Regions from separate parts of the Homo sapiens genome. Here region 2 is linked to region 1. The links are contacts of gene promoters, found by promoter capture Hi-C in human tissues and cell types (Jung and others, 2019). All regions are on one chromosome and are shown on one strand. Each heading gives the region's core, a stretch centred on a gene start or on the middle of the fragment in contact. The rest is flanking DNA. Distances are from core to core; before and after follow the strand shown.

Region 1 (4,639 bases), core at 1,572-4,071:
GGCAATGGTAGCCTGTGGGGATGCCTTCACTGTAGCTATTGGGGCAGGTGAGGACTGAGCATGGTGGGGGCAGACAGTGCCATGAGCAGTGGGGGGTGGGGGTTGCTATTCAGGGCCACTGGACTCTGGAGCCTCCCAGGGGCCATCCTGGCAATGTGGGAGGGGAGATCCTGCTCGGGCTGTGCCCACTTCCCACTTCCCTCCTGGGGATTCTTCCTGGCAGAGAGCGAAGTGTACTCTTGGGGCAAAGGGGCGCGAGGTCGATTGGGAAGGAGGGATGAGGATGCCGGACTCCCTCGGCCAGTGCAGTTGGATGAGACACACCCTTACACGGTGACTTCCGTGTCCTGTTGCCATGGAAACACCCTCCTGGCTGTTCGATGTGAGTTGTAACTTTTCCCACTTCACCACACAGCCCAGCTGGCCCCTGTCCACACTCCCATCCCCAGTGTTCACAGATGGCCACATCACCAAAAGCATCTTTAGCCCCCAGATAAAAAAAGCAGAAGCTGCGGTTGAAAAGCTTCAAGCTTCCTGCCTGGGGTGGCCAAGGCTGGTGCTTCTTGGGCCTCATGGAAGGGCTGCCTCCACTGCTCCCCAGGGCTCACATGCATTCTTTCTCCTACTGCTGAGTCCCGTTGATGCTGAAACTCTCTTTCTGGCCTAACAGGGTCCAGAATCCAGGGCCCAGTGGGAGTGGGAGGTGGGTGATGATTTCTGGAGGCACTGCCCTCAGAAGCTGCAAGGGTTTCTCTTCGGTACCCTCCAGCGGTCACAGATGAGCCGGTCCCCCCCTGAGGCACCCGGATTCACCTCTGGACCACCCTGATATTGCTTCTCCTCTGAATGCTCTGAAAAGTGCAGGTGCCCAAGGCATGACTTGCAGCTGTCTCCTGGATTGTGTCATCATGGGGTATCAGGGCTGGCAAAACCCCTGCTCTGCTTTTGGCCTTGGATATGGAAACCTCAACCACTTTGTTCTCCTACCACCTCTTTGCCCTTCCTACCCCTTCCTCCCTTCAGTCAGTGTCCCCAGGGTCCAGCCTGGCTAGAGTTAGAAGGCAGACCTAGCCTTTGGAAGCAGGGTGGCCTCCAGAGCCTTGCCATAAAAAGGCTGAAGGCAGCCGGGCGCAGTGGCTCACGCCTGTAATCCCAGCACTTTGGGAGGCTGAGGCGGGCGGATCACGAGGTCAGGAGATCGAGACCATCCTGGCTAACGTGGTGAAACCCCATCTCTACTAAAAATACAAAAAAATTAGCTGGGCGTGGTGGCACGCGCCTGTAGTCCCAGCTGCTCAGGAGGCTGAGGCAGGAGAATGGCGTAAACCCCTCCAGCCTGGGCGACAGAACCAGACTCCGTCTCAAAAAAAAAAAAAAAACAAAAAAGGCTGAAGGCAGCTGTAGCTCCACACAGACCCTACCCTTTCCCCTAGCCCAGTTAGAAAATAAGTCTGGGCCGGCGGCGGTGGCTCACACCTGCATAGGCAGTGCTTTGGCCAGGAGGATCCCTTGATCCCTTGTGGCCAGGAGTTGGGAGACCAGCCTGGGGACCATAGCGAGACCGCTGTCTCCACCAAAAAAAAAAAAAAAGAAGAAAATAAGGCTGGGTGCGGTGGCTCACGCCTGTAATTCCAGCACTTTGGGAGGCCAAGGCGGGCGGATCACTTGAGGTCAGTAGACTGAGGCCAGCCTGGCCAACATGGTGAAACCCCGTCTCTACTAAAAATACAAAAATTAACCAGGCATGGTGACGGGCGCCTGTAATCCCAGCTACTCTGGAGGCTAAGGCAAGAGAATCCCTTGAACCCGGGAGGTGAAGTTTGCAGTGAGCCGAGATCGCACCACTGCACTCCAGCCTGGATGACAGAGCAAGTCTCCCTCTCAAAAAAAAAAAAAAAAAAAAAAAAAAAAAAGTATTTGGTGCTTACCGGGACTCTATCTCCATACTTTGGAGCAGGGCAAGCCAGGGCCTGCCTGGACTGGCCATTAGGCCTGCCTAGCTTCTGCATAGCCCGGGGCTGGGCGGTCCCCGGGAGTGCTGCCACCTCCCCTACACTTTCATCCTGAGGCAGGATTTGCTAGACGTCGGCTTGCCTCTCTTCCCCAGCAGGAGGGCAGGAGTCACTAAGTGCTGCAGAAAAGATCCGCGCTGGAGATTGCCCGTCCCCCCCATGCCTTTCCCCAGAAACAGTTGAGAGAATGGGTAGCTGGTGGGACCAGACCGGTTTCCCAGAGGACAGGAAGGCCAATAAAAATATCAGCTGCCTGCCTGGAGTGTGGTGTCTTCAAGGGTGGGGGTGGCGACCAGGCACCCCAGGACTGGGCTGGGCCCGACCTCGGTGGCAGGGCTGCGGCCAAGGGAGGAATGTGGGCGCAGCCGGAGGCTGGGGCCGAGGTTCCTCTGGCCCAGCGCCCAGTCCAGCCTCCCCGCCCCAGCTGGGCTCCCCGGAGCTGGTTGCCAGGCTTCGGCTGCCTAGCACCTGGAAGCTGGGGCCACGGTTCCTGGGCTGCTCACGGCCCCGGAGGCCGAGCTGTTGCCTCTGGAGAAGAAAACCTTTGTGGCGCGGCCCGTCCCCTTTTCCGACCCGCACTTCCCCGGGGCCCGCGGGCTCTGGGGAGAAGCGGAGCCACGATCTCTGTCCCCCAGGGGAAAGAAAAGCCCATGATCCCGTGGGTGGGCGAGACTGGCGGTCACCAGACCCAAAAACCATGCACTCGGGGGTGGGCGGGGCCGCGAGGGCGCGCATTAGGACCGCGCGGCCGCGGTCCGCCCTCTCTTCCGGAGGGCGGGCTTCACAGCCGAGCCCTGGCCGCGACCGCCAGTCGGCGCCGCCCGGAGCCGGGAGCGCCGCTCCAGCGAGGCGCGGGCTGTGGGGCCGCCGCGTGCCTGGCCCCGCTCGCCCGTGCCGGCCGCTCGCCCGCCATGCCTGGCTTCGACTACAAGTTCCTGGAGAAGCCCAAGCGACGGCTGCTGTGCCCACTGTGCGGGAAGCCCATGCGCGAGCCTGTGCAGGTTTCCACCTGCGGCCACCGTTTCTGCGATACCTGCCTGCAGGAGTTCCTCAGGTGCTGGCCGGGGAGCAGGGGACAGCGGGGGCGGGGCGGGGCGGGGGGCGCCGCCTGGGGAGGGTCTCGGGCCCGGGGCAAGGCGGGCCTTTGTCTGCGCTGCGACCCTGTGACCTCAGGGGCGCCCCGTGACGTCACGGGGAGGGATGACGTCAAGCCCCGAGGGAGGCCCCCCCCGCAGGAATCCGAGGGGTCCGGGCGGGTCCCAACTGCCCGGCCCGGGGCGGAAGACCTCGGCGCCTTCTCGTGGGGTCAGGAGGGGAAGAGGCCCTTCCCCGTCACCTGAGAGCCGGCGCGGCCTCAGCCTTGAACTTTGAATCCTGGGGGAAGAGGACAAAACCCGCTCCCGCGTGGCAGTTTGAGCCTCCGGAGCTTTCCCCCATCTAACCTCTTCTGATTCTTCGAACGTTCAGAGAACGGTAGCTATTGTTCTCCCATTTCACAGATCATGAAACGAGATTCAAAGAAAGGCTGCGACTTGCCCAGGGTCACATAGTTACTTAAAGGCTTAACTAGGATTTAAACCCGGACTGCTTATGATCACACAATGGAGGAAGGACTGAATCCTCCCCCGAAGAAGGACCCCTCTAGGCGGCTCCCCTCTCTCCCGGGGGCTGGAGTAAGGCGGGTGGTCCATAAGTCATGAAGAAGGGGGTCGCACTCGTGTTGTTACTGAACTCCCGCTGCCCTCTCAGGACGCAGGTTAGCCCTTGGCTCTTGGGCATCCATCAAGTTTCTGGGCGCCCTGTATGTCTTGAATCTCCTGCTCACGCAGGGAACCCCTCAGGCCCGGGTGTGGGAAGCAGGGTGAAGGAGCCCCGACTCTTCGGAGGTCATGCCCCCAGAGCGCAGGGGAAGGCCGAGTCGGCCACTGCCTGGCTGTTTGCTGGGACGAGGGGATCGAGGGCCTGGCAGGGATAGTACCTCTGAGACGCCTGCCTCCGGTGCTCCCTCCCGCCGTGCCTCCCTCCCTCGCTCGGTCCTCCGTAGCTCCTACTGGCGGAAATCTCAGCAGGCCCTTTGTTTTCTGTTCCCCACAGCCTGGGCCGGCTCCTGCCCTCACATATGCTCCGGCACAAGCTGCAGGACTGCCCCCTCCCCCTCGGCAGTGTACACATTTACTCTCCTACAGACACAGCCCCATTGTCTCCGCCACTGCTCTTCCCCGGCCCTCTGGGTTCCAGATGAGGCCAGCTGAGCCCCCCGACCCCCCCACAGCTGACCCACCCTGACTGCCTCGGGAAAGGAGCGGGGGAGGGGGCCGTCAGGCCGGATTCCTTCCACCACCTTCTTGGCCCCCCTCTCTGCCACTCCCCCTCCCGGAAATCCCCTCTTCCTCTCCCACTCCCACACCCCCTCCCCCCATCCTGTCTTCTTCCCTGGGCCTTGGCCTCCACTGCACAGCCTGGAGCAGCCTCTGCCCTGCCTGTCCCCCATCCCCCAGTGCCTGAGCTGTGCTGCTGAGGCTTCTGAAGGGGAGAGAGGTGGTTGGGTGGTCCCTGCTCCTCACCCGCCACGGTACAAGCACAAGTGAGGGTGTCCACAGCCCTGGCTGGGCCCCAAGCTGCAGGCT
Region 2 (4,639 bases), core at 963-3,462, 130 kb after region 1:
CCACACACTGCTCTTGGGCAGCTGCAATCCAGCAACAATCCCCTCTCCTTTCTCTGACCTCCTGCAGTTTATGAGCCAAGCCTTCTCATGAAGCTCACTTGTCCTGAAATCACAGGCCCATGTTTGGCTTGAACCAGAGCTTTCGCCTTCACAGTTCAGGGGTTGTACATTAGGGTTCTTGCTTCCTGTCTAGGAGTACTGAGAGCTAGCAGGAAATAAGCACAGCTTCTGACTGACTTGTCAGAGTCCGGGCTCCACCACACTACCGCTGAGTGATTCTGGCCCCTGCACCTGATCTTAGAGTCTTGGCTTCCTCAACAGTAAAATGGGGTTCAGGCCAGGTTCAGTGGCTCATGCCTGTAATCCCAGCAGTTTGAAGGCCGTGGTGGGCGGATCCCTTGAGGTCAGGAGTTTGAGACCAGCCTGGACGACATGGCGAAACCCTGTCTCTACTAAAAATACAAAAATTAGCCACGCGTGGTGGTAGGCGCCTGTAATCCCAGCTACTCGAGAGGCTGAGGGAGGAGAATCTCTTGAACCTAGGAGGCAGAAGTTGCAGTGAGCCGAGATAGTGCCATTACACTCCAGGCTGGGTGACAGAGTGAGACTCTGTTTCAAAAAAAAAAAAAAAAAAGGCCGAGCGCGGTGGTTCACACCTATAATCCCAGCACTTTGGGAGCTTGAGGCGGGCAGATCACGAGGTCAGGAGTTCGAGACCAGCCTGACCAACATGGTGAAACTCCATCTCTACTAAAAATACAAAAATTAGCTGGGCTTGTTGGCACAGGCCTGTAATCCCAGCTACTGAGGAGGCTGAGGCAGGAGAATTGCTTGAAACCGGGGAGGCGGAGGTTGCAGTGAGCCGAGATCGTGCCACTGCACTCCAGCCTGGGCGACAGAGCAAGATTCTGTCTCAAAAAAAAGGGGTTCAAATGCTTTCTTTTCCATGCTGGTGAAGATGAAATGAGACAGTGAAGGTGGATAGTTCTAACCTAGAGCCTGGCACATGAACAACAGGAGCTCAACAGATGCCAAGCTCCTTCCTTCCTGGCTTTGCAGTGGGCTTTCCCTGTTTACTCTCTCCAACGGGGCATACACCTGTGGGCGCTCGTGCTCACTCATACCCGTGCACGTACACGTGATAGTGTCCCCCTTGCACCCCTGTTGAGACACATACTGAGTCAGAAATGGAAATTTTCCTCTCAACACCTCCCTAACTCTATTCATCAGCTTCCAGTTCCTATTCTCTGGGTCAGTGGGGACTCTCAAGTCCAGACTTGGGCCATGACCTTTCCAGTCTCCTGGTACAGTTCTTTCTTTTTTTTTTCTTTCTTTTTTTTTTTTTTTTGAGACGGAGTCTGGCTTTGTCCCCCAGGCTGGAGTGTAGTGGTGTGATCTCGGCTCACTGCAAGCTCCACTTCCCAGGTTCACACCATTCTCCTGCCTCAGCCTCCCGAGTAGCTGGAACTACAGGTGCCCGACACCACGCCCGGCTAATTTTTGTATTTTTAGTAGAGATGGGGTTTCACCGTGTTAGCCAGGATGGTCTTGATCTCCTGACCTCGTGATCCGCCTGCCTCGGCCTCCCAAAGTGCTGGGATTACAGGCGTGAGCCACTGCGCCCAGCCAGGTACAGTTCTAAAGGTGGCTGTTGAGTGGAGCCTGAGTGTCCCTACTGCCTCAAATCCTTCCCGCCATCAGCCAGGCCTTTACATTCCTCCCTCCCTGCCAGGACAACCTGTTTGCTTCACAGCTGCTGTGGAAAAGATAGGCAGCCTGGATTATCAAGACAGACAAGGCTCCTTGCTGACAGTTCCCACCCACCCAGAGGCAAGCGTTCCTGAGCCCTTAACCCCCTCTGTGCTGGGCCTTCAGGCCTAGGGACTGGGCACAGCAGGGAAGATGGGCAGGCCTGGTACCCTCTATATCGAATTCCTAAGGCTGGTGGGGTCATGAGCACAACAGGGTAGGAAACAGCATCACCTGCACACTCCAGGTGCCCATTCTATATACTAAGCCCTTTCCTTCCTGGGTTCATGGAAGTTCATGGTAAACAGGGCCTTAGCAGGCCTCTGAAGGCTCAGGCAGAATGCTCTATACTCTCCACTCTCTCTTCCTGAGGCTGGTTCCAGGCTCTGGGGACAGAGGCCTGGCTTTCTCCATTCCAGGGGTCCACTGGCATTAGTACAGGTGCTGAGGCATCCCCTCCTCACTCCCTACCCCCACATCATTGCCCCTTCCTCCTCTCCAGCACCCTTCAGATCTCTTTCAGCAAGGCCCCTCTCATCTTCTTGCTGAAGTCAGTGTCCCTGACACTAAGGCCAACCTGGACCATCTCCTAGTTGGGTCTCATTGCAGCCACTCAGGCCTCCTTTTCCTGAAGGTCAACAGGAAGCAGTGAAAAGACCAGTAGTGGGCCAGGCATGGTGGCTCATGCCTGTAATCCCAGCACTTTGGGAGGCTGAGGCAGGTGGATTGCTTGAGCCTCAGGAGTTCGAGACCAGCCTGGGCAACATGGTGAAACCCCATCTCTACTAAAAATACAAAAATTAGCCAGGCGGTGGTATGCAATTGTAGTCTCAGCTACTTGGGAGGCTGAGGCAGAAGAATCGCTTGAACCTGGGAGGTGGAGGTTGCAGTGAGCCGAGATAGTGCCACTGCACTCCAGCCCAGCAGAGCGGGACTCCATCTCAAAAAACAAACAAACAAACAAAAATTAGCCAGGTATGGTGGTGCATGTCTGTAGTCCCAGCTACTCAGGAGGCTGAGGTAGGAGGTTCACTTGAGCTTAGGGAAGTCAAAGCTGCAGTAAGTCGTGATGGTGCCACTGCATTCCAGCCTAGGCGACAGAGAGAGACTATCTCTCTATCTTGAAAAAAAAAAAGTCTGCTCCCTCAAATGTTTTTCCCATTTCAGTAAATAACAACTCCGTTCTTCCGTTCTTCCAGATGGGACGAAGATCTTGGAGGCAATTTATTTTCTTTTTTTGGACATGTTCCAGATTTTGATCTTCACGCTGGTTAGAAAGGTATATGCATTTATGAAATTTTATTATATGTAAAATTCACAAGATTTGTACCCCTTTCGCTATGTAAGTTATACTTCCAATTTAAAAGCAACCACTCAATTCCCTATTTTCTATGTATTAATCACAATTTTTTTTGTTTTGTTTTTTGAGACAGGGTCTTGCTCTGTCACCCAGGGCAAAATGCAGTCACCCAGGGCAAAATGCAGTGGCATGAACATGGTGTGTCCAGAATTGGTGGGTTCTTGGTCTCATTGACTTCAAGAATGAAGCTGCAGACCCTCGCAGTGAGTGTTACAGTTCTTAAAGATGGTGTGTCCGGAGTTTGTTCCTTCTGATGTTTGGACGTGTTCGGAGTTTCTTCCTTCTGGTGGGTTCATGGTCTGGCTGGCTTCAAGAGTGAAGCTGCAGACCTTCGCAGTAAGTGTTACAGCTCTTAGGGCGGCACGTCTGGAGTTATTGGTTCCTCCCGTCCGGAGTTGTTCATTCCTCCCGGTGGGTTCGTGGTCTTGCTGGCCTCAGGAGTGAAGCTGCAGACCTTCGCAGTGATTGTTACAGCTCATAAAGGCAGTGCGGACCCAAAGAGTGAGCAGCAGCAAGATTTATTGCAGAGTGAAAGAACAAAGCTTCCACAGTGTGGAAGGGGACCTAGCGGCTTGCCCGCAATTTATTTTCTTAATTAACTTTTTGCTGAAGTAGAACATATATTCAAAAAGTGCATGACTCATAAGTGAATTATCACAAAGTGAACACACCCATGTAATCACCATCCAGGTCAAGAAACAGGACATTCTCAGGGGGCTCCTGTGCCCTCTATTTCTGTCTCTTCTTCCCCAAAGGTGACCTTTAGCTGATCTAATGTCATAGATTAGCTTTGCCTGCTTTTTGGACTTTATATGGAATGATACAATCTATATTATTATTATTATTATTTTTTGAGATGGAGTCTCGCTCTGTTGCCCAGGCTGGAGTGCAATGGTGTGATCTCAGCTCACTGCAACCTTTGCCTCCCGGGTTCAAGCAATTCTCCTGCCTCAGTTTCCCAAGTAGCTGGGACTACAGATGTGCGCCACCACGCCCAGGTAATTTTTGTATTTTTAGTAGAGACGGGGTTTCACTATATGTTGGCCTGGCTGGTCTCGAACTCCTGACCTCAGGCAGTCCACCCGCCTCAGCCTCCCAAAGTGCTGGGATTACAGGCGTGAGCCACCATACCCGTCTATTATTATTTTTGGGACAGGGTCTCACTGTGTCTCCCAGGCTGGAGTGCAATGGTGCAATCTTGACTCACTGCAGCCTCAACTCAACGTCCCGGGCTGAAGCAATCCTCCCACCCCAGCCTCCCGAGTAGCTGGGACTATAGGTGCAAACCACCATGCCCAGTTAATTTTTTTTTTTTGTATCTTTTGTGGAGACAGGGTTTTGCCACACACTCAAGCAATCTGCAATCTGCCCACCTCATCCTCTCAAAGTGCTGGGATTACAGGTGTGAACCACCGCACCCAGCCCATGTCTGGCTTCTTTCACTCAACATTACGTTTGCAAGATTTATTCAAGTATTTGCATGTAGCAGTAGTTCATTTGTTTTTATTACTGCATAGTATTCAATTTCAT

What was found. The method cuts DNA at HindIII sites, captures the fragments that hold promoters and counts their contacts. A contact is called where the count stands out against the background at its distance.
Region 2: a contact is called between a fragment that was not itself captured here and the fragment with the promoter of TRAF4 in region 1, in 1 of the 25 tissues and cell types used here (mesendoderm cells).

Annotation. Positions count from the first base shown.
Region 1 is chr17:28,741,190-28,745,828 of GRCh38, forward strand. It overlaps TRAF4 (TNF receptor associated factor 4), which reads left to right and starts at 2,822. Exons shown (of 7, transcript NM_004295.4): 1 at 2,822-3,066. The coding sequence starts at 2,924. It overlaps NEK8 (NIMA related kinase 8), which reads left to right. Exons shown (of 15, transcript NM_178170.3): 13 at 1-47; 14 at 224-382; 15 at 770-2,266. The coding sequence ends at 798. RefSeq lists silencers at 43-102, 1,922-2,216, 2,671-3,080, 3,101-3,300 and enhancers at 603-762, 1,898-2,898, 1,922-2,216. The HindIII fragment of the contact is 18,595 bases long and covers 1-4,639 here.
Region 2 is chr17:28,871,147-28,875,785 of GRCh38, forward strand. No RefSeq gene overlaps it. Among named protein-coding and RNA genes, the nearest start is that of MIR4732, 12 kb to the left of the region's middle. RefSeq lists an enhancer at 421-490. The HindIII fragment of the contact is 4,288 bases long and covers 69-4,356 here.